3 separate regions of the Homo sapiens genome follow, and regions 2 and 3 are each linked to region 1. Evidence: promoter capture Hi-C in 16 types of primary human blood cells and fetal thymus (Javierre and others, 2016). All regions are on one chromosome and are shown on one strand. The core of a region is centred on a gene start or on the middle of the fragment in contact, and the rest is flanking DNA. Distances in the headings are between cores, read along the strand shown.

Region 1 (4,230 bases), core at 766-3,265:
CTAAAATGAAGATATCTAGCCTTTATTAAAGGCTTTATGTACGTTTTATTACGAATTAATAAAAATAAATTAGCTAAGTTAATATTTCCTAAATTTTAGTCATTTATATAGCATCTTCATATTATACTGAATATTTTACTTCAAATAAAATGAATAATTAAAAATGGAACTTCATATTACTACTGCAGATAGAAAATCAGTTTCACTAATAAATCGAAGTAAAACACACAAATAAATATGTGGATGTTCCTGGGCATCAATTTTTCTCTTCTATGTACAGGAATAATAATAGGACCTATCTCATAGGGTTGTTTTTGAGTGTTCCAAGAATTAATACATATAAAGTGCTTTGAAAAATTCTAGAACATAATATGTGTCATAGGTAATTTTTAAAAGGGATTAAAATAACCTATTTATAAAAAGGCTATTAATTTGGGTTTTGAAAAGTTAAACTGTATGGTAGAAATAAGAGACATGCTCGAAACAAAAATGAAACAAAAAATAAAATAAAATGAGAAATATACAGCAGGCAAATAATAGCCAATATGAAATTGGTAGAGAAATATCAATATTAAAAAAAGTTTAAAAGGACAAGCAACAATAACAATAAAGAGGGGCACCACACAATGAAGAAAGAGATGATCTATGAAGAAATGATAAACATATGTTCATTAAATAATTTTGTGTAATAGCAAAGAAAAATGTTCTTTATTAAGAAACTGGATAAATAAAATATTTCATATTCATGTGATCCAATATGATTAATTTTAAAAGATCATGGCTATATCTTAAAAGCATAGAGTTCAATTATGCAACAGTAAAACTTTAAAGTAAAATATTAAAACCATTGTTTGTATATTAGTGTATGAAGCAAAAAATACACAGAACTGAAAGGATGCATCAAAATAATGATATACACAATAATGATACCTGCTGGGAAGGAGGAGAACAAAAACAAAACGTCATTCCATTATTAGCAATGTTTTAAAGAATTTGCATTCAGTTTTCTAGTGTGTTTTGATTGTAGTTCAACTATTACAATCTCATTTGAATTTTTATATTTTAAATATGTGTCAAATTTATAAGTCACAAAATAACATAATGTTACCAAAAGGTTTGGCAAGTTTGTAAGTTTGACTCATAAATTTGGCTTTGCAGGTTCTGGACTTTTGATTTTAAGAACATCCGATCGCTCTCTCTTTACTGTCATCTGGTTCCAAGCAATAGAAAAGAGAAAAGATAAAACTGTGGTTCAGATGCAATTTTATATCAATTCCTGCTTTTCTGTAATCAACTATTATATTAAAACAATATGCCTTTAATTTGAAAATGTATAAATTAGCTATGCAAAAAACTGGGAGAACGATATACAAATAATAAAAATTCCGAGGTTCCCTATAATTGTGTACGTCTTCCACAATACATTAAAAAAAAAAAAAGAGTTCTGAGGGTATAGGCTAAGAAGAGAAAGGAAACGGTAGCGATCTCAAAATGATAAGTTAAAAGAAATAAGTAAGTAGCTTATTTTTCAGTTGTGGGATTATGAATAATTACTATTTCATTATCTACACTTTGCTGCACTTCCCAAAATTTCTACACAGAAGATACAATCTGGAAGAAATGAAGAAAGATTTCAGTAGTAAGAACGTGTAATGAGTGATTACATGATAAATAAAACAATAAATATTTCTTTCTAGGATATTTCACCAACCAAACACGACCTGATTCACCAACTAATACTCCCGCCTTCTAACAGCCACACGTAAAAATCAGACCGGCTCCAAGAATAACCTGAGCCTCCTTTCCCATAATTCCCTTCTTTCTAGTTTCCCATGAATCCGAAGGCCTTACACCCCACACTACTACTAGAAAGTTAACCCGCCCCCTCATTCTTTACTGGTCATTCACGATTGGTCCTGCCCCACCTGTCGGTGTGAGGCTGTTGATTGGATAAGAGCGGAGGCCGGTGGGCGGAACGGTTTCTGACAACCGGCGTGGAGGCGTGGCCACAGCCGCCCAGAAATTCTACCCAAGCTCCCTCAGCACCATGTACCGAGCACTTCGGCTCCTCGCGCGCTCGCGTCCCCTCGTGCGGGCTCCAGCCGCAGCCTTAGCTTCGGCTCCCGGCTTGGGTGGCGCGGCCGTGCCCTCGTTTTGGCCTCCGAACGCGGCTCGAATGGTGAGCGCAGGCCGCCATCCCCCGGCCTCCCCGCAGTGACCTTCAGCCCTCCTGCCTGCCGGCCTGGGCGCCCGCGACTTGGCGGGAGAGATTCCCCGGGCGTCCGGGCCGCGCCAGACTCTGGGCTTAGCGCCCGTGCCGGCGTGGCGGGCCTCCCGGCCTCGGGACGCCTCTTCCGGCGCAGGGATGGAGCCGCAGCCCGGGAGAGCGCTTGGGGAGGGACGGGGGCTGTCAGAGAGGGTCCTACTGGGCCCGCTCCCGGCGCCTCCTCGGAGCCGTCCGTGGCGGGCCGAGGCCGGGGCGTTTTGAGGTAACTTCGCTGCTGCTGGCGCGCAGGCCCCCAGCCCCGGGGCGCTGCCCTCAAGGACAGTGCCGGCGTGGGCGGAGGGTGCTGGGAGAGGGGCAGCTCCCGCACCGTCCTGCCCCATAGCTGGGCCTTGCTGGCCGGACACTGGCCGCCTGTGCATCTAGTGGTTTCTGAACTGTGGTTTGTTTCGCCAAGGGGCACTGCACTGCTTTCAGGCCCTCCAGGTGGGGTAGAAGGTTCTTCGAAGATTTTACTTCCTTTGAAATTGCATGCTCAGTTTGTTAGGCTGACTATGGTTTCCCCCGTAATTGTTGTAAAACTCTTCAATTCCGAATACCGCGGGCATAGTGTTCTGAAGCATGTTTGAGCAGATTGGCTAGGAGCTGAATCGGTACTTTTTATTCAGAAAGCCAGCTAAGAACTTAAAGATCCAAGTTCAGGTTATGACATGCTTACGTAAGTCATTTTGCTCTTTAGAGTGTCATCTTTAGGAATGCAGGCTTTTAAAAAGCTTTAAATACATATGTATATTGTTAGGAAACGTTTGAGAAATGATAGTTGAAGAGTTACAGTTCTGCACTGGTGTAGCATGAGGTTTGCAATCTAAGAGATGTGATTTCAAATCCGTATGCAAAGTTGAAATACTTACAGCTACTCAGCAAAACTGCACATGTGAAAATACCATGTAGCGAGTGCTCATTAAATAAGTGCCCCATCTAGGGTATTTCAAAGGGCCAGTACTTTTTCTGGACTCTAAACTTCAAGATAATTTGATTGGGTCACTATACCTACGATATACAACTATACTACAGAATCAGAGATGTTTTGTATTCCTCGAACTCCCTGCTCGAATAATTTTAGGGCATTTTAAAACCTTTACATATTTTTAAATTTATTTATTGTTTATTTAGTGTTTTGTAAAGGGAAGCAGACTGGAGAACTTCTGAATCTATCCTGTTGATGCAAATGTCAAAAAATAGCAGCACTACTTTGCTCTTAGAATTGTAATGTTAGCTAAAATCAGATGGAGGTAGTTTTTGTTTTTTCTAGTTCTGGTACTTTTTGCCCTCTAACCATTCTCAGGTCCAAAATCTCTGTTGGTTTTGTTAAAAGTTCTTCCTGTTGCTAATGTTGAGAATTTCACATAACCCTTGATGCCCTAAGGTACCTTTTATTTAAAAGAACACATACAAATTCATTCAATAGAAAGATACTGTTTATTGAGTGCCTTCCACTTACCAGGCCCTGTAAATAAGACAGTCCCTATGGGGATAGGGTTTTACAGGCAGTGTTTTATTCTTGTCTTTAGTGGAGATTAAATAAGCAAAGCAGTTAAATAAGCAAATAAATCACACATGAATAATTAGTGTGATCATTGATTATTAAAAATGCATTAAAAAGTGCATTGAGAATGAGAATATTTAACAGGCAGACCAACTGTGATACTGACTTGGTAGCATGATGGCATATATATAGTGTTTATATATGTAAATAATGTTTATACATTTCTTATATAAATGAATATACATATGTAATATATGTGAATAATGTTTATATATAAATAATGTTTATAAATTTCAAATAATCATTCTTAGACCGTTTTCAAAAGTTCCCAGTAAAATAAGCATTAAACTAAGTACATTGAATTGGCCAAATCTTGACCAGTAATAAGCATACTCTTGAAATGGAAAAGATTACTATTTGTATTTCAAAGTCTTTATGTTTATCACCAGCATAGTATATT
Region 2 (4,090 bases), core at 433-2,932, about 22 Mb after region 1:
CTGTATTTGTTTATAGGACAAGCAAAGGTTTTAGATTACCTATATTTAGAGATCCCATCTGGTAGGCAAACTGTTGAACAAAAATGTTTTGTTCCTTTCATGTTACTGTACTACTTTGAAATGTAATTAAGTTTCAAGATGACTATTTGCTTTTGTGGTGGATCTTTTGCCCTATTGAAGGTGGGGGAATATTATCACTGGAAGATTCCTATTCATACATTCTTTTACTCTTTATATAGCTCCTAATTATTTTTTGTTGCTACTCATTTGCTTTCTGCCAATCTATATGCACCTCCTTTTGGTAACTTCAGTTCTAAACTTAAAAAAGCAAGTAAACAAAATAAAAGAAAAAGAAAAAGTTCTCCTGTTTTGCAGGGTTTCAATATCAATTAGGATCTAACGATATAAATGGCAAAGTCGGAGTTTAGTTTACTGTTCTTCAGTGTGTTGAGAAATGCTTTAGGCCACACTTAGTTTTCAAAACAGAAAAGCAATTGAAAGTTCAGCCATTAAGATTAGTATATTTTGCCTGGGTGCAGTGGCTTACTGTAATCCCAGCACTTTGGGAGGCCAAGGCAGGCGGTTCACTTCAGGCCAGGAGTTTAAGACCAGCCTGGCCAACATGGCGAAACCCCATCTGTACTAAAAATACAAAAAAACTTAGCCGAGCATCATGGCGCATGCCTGTAATCCCAGCTACTCCGGTGGCTGAGACACAATAATTGATTGAACCCCGAGGCAGAGGTTGCAGTGAGCCAAGATCTCACCACTGAACTCCAGCCTGGGTGACAGAGCAAGACTCTGTCTCAAAAAAGAAACAAAAACAATGAACAAGATTAGTATACTTGGTATTTTCAAATGATAACAGTTAAATGAAGTTGCATTTGTCACGCAGACAGTACACAGTTTCCCGTTTGTTGTTTGGCTCATTCTTAAGCATCAAACCATATCCTCTCTATTGGTTAGTTTTCATCTGTTGCATCATTCAGAGAGAGAGAAACACACACACACACACACACACACACACACACACACATATATATATAAACAATATATACACATTGCACAAAATGCTTCAGCTTCAGCTTTAGGTAATTTAACATTTTGTCATAGATAAATAAAATGATTTCTTTTATGCATTCCCCCTGTCCATTCATGAAAGAAAAACTAGAAACAAACTTAAAGGTCCTGAATTCTTACAAAACAGCAAAACTATACTTTTTATAAATGAGATTATAAACTTTAACATAATCATTGCCTCAGTTCTGGGGACCTTAATCTTTTTCAGTCCAGTCTTTCCAGATACAGATATGGGTCATTCCTCTACTTTACCTTACTACTAGATGTGCATGGTCTCATTCTCTTTTTAGAGCAGATGGGTCACGTGGGGCATTGTGAGATGGACTGAGATGGCATTGGCAGTAGGGGTAGGGGAATACATGAGCTCCTCAAACACAGACCAAACGCAGCCTTGGAGAATGGATAGTGATTACTCTGCTGGATTATTAACAGTCAACATGATACACACCAAAGCAGTATGTAGGCCCTAGAGGAGGACAGTGAACTTTCCTCCCTTGGGTGCAGGCTACAGGGTCAGTGTTTATGCTTGGACACCAGAACAATGTTCTTTGCATTGCCATTTGTCTCCTCTTTTCTGGGAAATGGGTCTTCTTCCATTTGGACACCTCTTATGGCCAGTTCTCAAATTCCTAAGTTACCCTCTGGAAACACTTCTTATTCAACTTCCACTCAGTGCTTATATGAGTCTGAGGAATCCCTCCTGCAATCTTCATATTTGTCTCTGTACTCTAGAACCTATTACTTTTTTCTTCTATAACAAATTTTCAGGCTTTTGAAATCCAGGGCAAGAATCAACAGCAACCCCTAATCAGGTTTTGGGCCCTTGAGGGCAGGGAAGTTCAAATCCTACCATGAGATGAGGGGAAGTCATTGCATTGCATACGTCTATTACAAAGAAAAGAAATAAAAGCCAAAAGAGTAATTTCCTTATGAATGCAGTCAGAATATCTACTGTATTTTGCTACATTCATTTAAGAGAAGATTAGATAGGTAGATATAAAAAATGTTGAAGTAATGAAATGATAGGAGTTCCTGTTCCAGCCTCGGGGATGACAAGCTATGTAAATTAGACAGGCCATTTAGTCTCATTGGACACGTTTCTCCAATTGTGAAATAAGGGAGCAGGACTTGATGGAGAAGCCCCAGGTTCTGTCATTCTGAGATCCTGAAAGAATTTAAATATGTGACATGTGCCACTCATTTATGAATATACCTCTGATGTTTAACTCTACTTATAAAATAATGGTTCAAAACTCTTAATTGCACTACATAAACTTTTAGTTAGTAGTATGAGAAAGATCAGCACATGTGATTCTCCTTCCTCCTTGTATGGCTGAGTTTAGCAGCCTTAATCTCTTCCTACTCTTTCTGTGATTACTTTTAAAAGCCAGGAAAAAAAATTTAAAAAGACCTTTAAAAAAAGATAATTAGAAAATATAAAGTCAATTTTTGCAATTTGAAAAATGGAAGTGCACTTTATTCTGAAGTAGACTATTTTCAGGTTGTGTCTGTGTATGTGCATATTTCTCTGTGTATATATATTTATGAATATTTTCTATATATGTATAATTGGCATCAAGGTATGACAATGGATTTTCTTTTATTATAACTATATATGAAGAAAATCGAGACGCTTTGAAAAATCTACCTTAGTTTATATTTGAAAGGCAAATTAATACAATTATTTTGTCTTATCATATTTCCAAAGAATTTACTTTCTTATAGATTGATGGCAAAGTGTCAGTCTTCAAGAGCAGATATTCTTTGTGTAGGTTAAAAATGGATGCAGGTGTATATACCGAAAAGTATTGAAAGCAGGGGCTCAAAGATGTACTTGTACACTCATGCTCATAGCTGTGCTATTCACAACAACCAAGAGATGGACGCAACCCAAATGTCCATCAACAGATAAATGGATAAATAAAATATTATATATACATGTAATGGAATATTATTCAGCCTTAAAAAGGAAAAACATCCTGTCACATGCTACAACATGGATGAATCTTGAGGACATTATGTTAAGTTGAATAAAGCAGTCACAAAAAGATGAATACTGTATGCTTTCCCTTATATGAAATATCTGAAGTAGTCAAATTCATAGAAAAAAAAGTATAATGGTGGTTACCAGGAGCCGGAGAGAGGAGGAAAAGGGGATTAGTAGTTTAATGGATATAAATTTTCAGATTTGCAAGATGACAAAGTTCAGGAGATTTGTTTCATAACAATGTGAATATACTTAACACTACTGAACTGTACACTTAAAAATGGTTAAGATCATTTTACATTATGTGCTTTTTATCACAATAGAAAAAGGATGCAAGTGACAAGAGAAGTTTAAAGCAGTGATTATTCAAAATGTTAGTTTGTCATTCATTATATATTTTCATTCATATGCATTTATTTAGTTTTCCTTCACAGGGGTTAACAAAATAAAATAATATAAGTGAAAACAAATATCTTTATTAGACACTCTTGCAAACCTGAAAACACATACACAATTTCAAAATAATTATAAACAAAATTGTCATTGAGCTGTGGTAGAAGGTGCGATGGATTTGAGGTACGAAAACCTAGGTTTAAGTACTTTTCCTGCATGGCTAGTCCTGTGAACTACTAAATTGTAGTTGCCTTAATAGCAAGAACTGTTTTATTTCTTTGTATCCTCCTGAAATACCTAGAACAGTGTCTCAGATATTACTTGTTGGAGTTAAATTATGCTTTTAATTGAGTTATATTTTGAACAGGAAGGATGAACAGAGAGGAAAGCGCTACACTCCTCTGGCATCTACTTGTTACTCTGGCATGTAAGCAGTAACCAGAGGTACACAGGTGACAGGCCACCTCTTGGAGAAAACCAGCCAAGGCCAGGGTCAGGATCACAATATTAGGCCTGGTTTTCAGCTTAGTGTGGGAAGCAAAATTTTTGAAAATTACAAAGCCCAATGTCAAATCTTGTAGTGAGAACCAAGCAAAGCTAGAACATGACCATGAGCAAGAAATAACTAGG
Region 3 (4,309 bases), core at 789-3,288, about 55 Mb after region 1:
GTTTCCACTTCCATGTATTCAACCAACCACAGATTGAAAAATTATTTTTTTAAAGCATGATTACATCTGTATCATTAAAGATGTTTTTTCTTGTCACTATTCCCTAAACAATATAATATAACAACTATAGCATTTACATTGTATTAGGTATTATAAGTAACTTAGAGATGATTTAAGATATGCAAATGCTACACCATTTAATATAAGGAACTGGAGCATCCATGGATTTCATATCCATGGGGTGGGCAGGTGAGAGGGTCCTGGAACCAATGCCCCACGGATACCAAGGGACAACTGTATTTTGCCTTATAGGGTCATAATTTTCCAGAAATGTTGTATATCAGCCAAAGCCTTTGTGGTCCAAGCACTGTGACTGACACAACTCAACCTTTCTGGGCTCTGGTTTCCTAATCTATAAAATAAAGCATTTGAATCCTAGCAGATCTGAAAACCTATCTAATTTTAGGATTCTGTGAATCTAAGTACAGAAAAATCTACATTTCCCAAATGACAGATCAACAGTATGATAATACTGTGGGCTTAGGACATAGCATAATACTTCATATACCAGCAACTTTAATTACAATGCTTATCTAAAAAATATTTTTGGGGAAAAATCAACCTTAAGCTCCGCTGTTGATTTATTTTTCCTTAGTTATTACAAAATATCATAAAATGCTTCCATTTATATTTCTTAGACGGCTTCACAACATGATTCAAAAGTAAGAACTAGAGAAAAAGAATAAATTTCATATAAGAACTAAATCACCAATTCACAGAAGGCCCACGACTGTGGGAACTGCAGAGAGACGACACTGGGAATGCATTATTTACAATGAATAATTTAACAAATTCTTTCATAAGAGTAAACACGAAACAATCTACGGATTGAGCTTTAAAACTACAGAATTATGATCTGGAACCATACAAGTTCTGTTACTGTAGAAATTAACAATGTGTTTAAAAACTTCAGTTACAACAGTTTTCAATTTTAAAAACAATATAATGTTAGGTAACCGTTTCTGCAACGAAAAATTTAAAACATAGGCTACACTCAAAGTGCTACCGGTTTCTTTTAATTCTCCTCCTGAAGAATTAACCCGGGTCCTTAAATTCCCGGGTACTGAATCACTCAGTGCCACCTCCCCACCACCAAAAACCATTTAGGTACGCCGTTTCACACAAGGTAAGTTCGTCAGAAGTGTGTGCCGGAGTGACTGTCCATATGGTTCCAACACTGTCCCTTCCTTTTTCTCTTGAAAAGAGAGCACACACACACACACACACACACACACACTACACTTAGGCTGACTTACCTGTTTTCAGAATGTGCACTCGTGGCAGACAATTACCTCGGACGGTCTCTCCGCCGGAGATGGGGGTTTCGGGCCCAAGTACCAGCCTCTAGGGGCCAGATTCCCTCCGGTCTCAATTCACTGCCACTGAATTCATCAGAAAGCGACCTACTTCCCACACCTCACTTCCCACTCCAAAGCCAGGGACTTGGGAGTCAGGTGGCGCAGATTGATGACGTAAAAGCCCCCCCTCCCTTCCCCGCAGAGCCTCAGCCAAAGCGACTGCGGTCGCCACCCCGCCCCCTTCTGGGCGCCATAGAGAGCGTGGCGGTATCCCGGAGCCTGCCGTCCGGCCCTACCGGGACCGATGCCCTCTAGTGGCTCAGTGTCCAGAAGCCGCCAACGAGGACGATCCATGGCATCCCGGGGCTTTGACGGTAAGGTCACCAGCTCTTCAGGGAGGGCCAAGGGGTGACGAGTACGTATGTGGCGCCACCGTGCGGACAGCGGTTACGGGGCCGAGATAGGAGAGCCAGGGGAGCGGGGAGAAAAACGGAAGCTGAGAGGGCGGTGCAGCATTGGGCTCCCGGAAAAGAATGAGAAAAACACTACATTTCCCAGAGCCCTACAAGGCCTGAAGTGGGTGGAGCTGGAAGCCGGAAAATTGGGTGCGCAAGAGGATCAGGGATAGCCTCTGAGCTCGGGTTCCCAGGGTTCGTAGCTTCCAACGGCTGCGCGCGCACTTCGGTCGCGGGCGGTGAGGTGCTGTTGCTGAAACGCTGCCGCTGAGGGTGGACTCGATTTCCCAGGGTCCCGCCGCGGGAGTCTCCGGCGGGCGGGCGCGCGCGAGCCACCGAGCGAGGTGATAGAGGCGGCGGCCCAGGCGTCTGGGTCCTGCTGGTCTTCGCCTTTCTTCTCCGCTTCTACCCCGTCGGCCGCTGCCACTGGGGTCCCTGGCCCCACCGACATGGCGGCGGTGTTGCAGCAAGTCCTGGAGCGCACGGAGCTGAACAAGCTGCCCAAGTCTGTCCAGAACAAACTTGAAAAGTTCCTTGCTGATCAGCAATCCGAGATCGATGGCCTGAAGGGGCGGCATGAGAAATTTAAGGTGGAGAGCGGTAAGTGAGATGCTCTTTCCGTCCTTGGTTTTGGGCTCGACTCCCGCCCTTTGGGTCTGGTCTTCCCCCATCAAGTTGGCACTGGGTACCGCTCTGTTAACCTCACTTCCTGGGCTCTGTGGATATCCTGAGCCTTCGCTTTCCTGCTCCTTACAGTTTGATAAGAAGCCTTTGAAAAAAAAATCTGAATCTAAGTTCAGTAGCATTTTCTTTGTAGTTAGGGTAGGCTCATACAGGGACGCTTATTTTCCTTCGTCCGGCAGACGGGAAACAGACTTGATAGAGTCTGCGAACCCATCTCTCTAAGCCTAGAGTACCTTATATGTTTTGTTGCACTTCAACTGATAGTGGCTCCGCCCTATTTTCTAGGCACCTGCATTCTAGGCCTTTGCCAAATTGACCACTCTGTGCACTTGTTCTTAGTGTGTGCGTCGTCCCGTGGCTCCAGAACGAATCAGATGTTTACAAAAATGAATATTAGGTGCATAAGAGCGCTGGAAACACAGTGAATGTGCAGTACATAAATTTAATATATCTTGATTTCTCTTAAAAAGTTGGAGTTTGATAGAAAACATTAAAATTTTCTTGTAATTACCTAAAGTAGGCCTTTAAGTAAGAAAGTTACTGACAATAATGGCTTGAACATCCTTGAAAAAAATATGAAGAATATAGTCATTACCATTAGTAAAATACAAACTTCCCGTTAATGTGTTTTGGTTTACCATTTGTTTGGGGAGGTTCATACTGTTCTTGCTAAGTTGACTGGAAATTCTGAACAAGTTTTTACTTCAAAAAAAGTGTAACTGTCAAGCAGAATTGACCTTGAAAATTAGTTCTCTGATCCCAGAGCTGAGTATAGTACATTGCATTCTATTTATTAATTTGCACCATAAATATTGAATGTCTTACATGTTCCTGATACTATGCTGAACATGATATTCAATCCCTTCCCTTGGAAAGTTTACACATTTACTTTTACATATATTTAGTAGTTTTATGCTTTCAGGTAATATCTTGACTACTATAAAAGAAGTCTTTTAAAACAAAGGAGTTTTTTTTTGTCTAAACAATTTTTTCTCGTGTAATAAATACTTTATTTATTAAGCAGTTTACTGATGTCTGGAGAAAATACTAAGATAAATGAGGTTACCTGCCTTGAAGACATTGATTTGTAAAGCCCCTTTTAGGCCTTATTTTTATTTTTTATTTTTTGTCATGTAAGTCGTTTGGAAATGCTTTAAGTCCTTTTCAGTGCTCAGTCTATTTATCTTTACTCAGATTCTCTTATGTGGAGCACAATTCTAATACTGTATCTTAAGTTTTAAAATCAAGGTTATTAGAAATAAATAACAGTATTCACAATGTATGTACATGTGTTTGATTTTGTTTTTTGTTTTTTGCTTGTCTGCTGTAGAACAACAGTATTTTGAAATAGAAAAGAGGTTGTCCCACAGTCAGGAGAGACTTGTGAATGAAACCCGAGAGTGTCAAAGCTTGCGGCTTGAGCTAGAGAAACTCAGTAAGTATTTAATTCATCTTTGTAAGTATTCTCGGAGTATCGAAATCTTCAGAGACTCCTTTATATACTTTGGAAACATTTGCTTACTAAACATGAAAATATTGATTAAGCATCATTGGTTTTTATTATGGTGATATTTTGATTTTTCACTTAGTGGTAAAGATTTTGTGAGAACACAGAATTTAATGGTCAGGAGGTCTGGATTCTTATTCTGATTTTGCTATTAAAATTGCTTTTGCCACATGTAAATCTTAACAGTATCTGATTATTGTTTATAAAATGGTTAGACCCACATGTCTGTCTACCTAGACAGCTTTGTAAATCAAATGAGATAAGAGTTCTTGAAATCTTTTTAAAAAGGTGAAAGCATTATGCAA

The links. Contacts are between HindIII fragments. The CHiCAGO score rates a contact against its expected background, and 5 or more counts as called.
Region 2: a fragment that was not itself captured here is called in contact with the fragment with the promoter of FH in region 1 in 1 of 17 cell types (non-activated CD4 T cells); the score reaches 10.7 in non-activated CD4 T cells.
Region 3: a contact is called between the fragment with the promoter of TPR here and the fragment with the promoter of FH in region 1, in 1 of 17 cell types (total CD4 T cells). The highest score is 7.1, in total CD4 T cells.

Annotation. Positions count from the first base shown.
Region 1 is chr1:241,517,540-241,521,769 of GRCh38, reverse strand. It overlaps FH (fumarate hydratase), which reads left to right and starts at 2,015. Exons shown (of 10, transcript NM_000143.4): 1 at 2,015-2,179. The coding sequence starts at 2,048. RefSeq lists silencers at 1,901-2,030, 1,853-2,135, 2,311-2,580 and an enhancer at 1,641-2,237. The HindIII fragment of the contact is 3,380 bases long and covers 1-2,999 here.
Region 2 is chr1:219,167,293-219,171,382 of GRCh38, reverse strand. All of the region lies in intron 1 of LYPLAL1-DT (LYPLAL1 divergent transcript), which reads left to right. Among named protein-coding and RNA genes, the nearest start is that of LYPLAL1-DT, 4.4 kb to the left of the region's middle. The HindIII fragment of the contact is 5,683 bases long and covers 1-4,090 here.
Region 3 is chr1:186,372,982-186,377,290 of GRCh38, reverse strand. TPR (translocated promoter region, nuclear basket protein) reads left to right here and starts at 2,038. Exons shown (of 51, transcript NM_003292.3): 1 at 2,038-2,413; 2 at 3,828-3,932. The coding sequence starts at 2,263. It overlaps ODR4 (odr-4 GPCR localization factor homolog), which reads right to left and starts at 1,453. Exons shown (of 14, transcript NM_017847.6): 1 at 1,317-1,453. RefSeq lists enhancers at 1,424-1,613, 1,784-1,833, 1,994-2,293 and a silencer at 2,854-2,903. The HindIII fragment of the contact is 6,872 bases long and covers 1-3,908 here.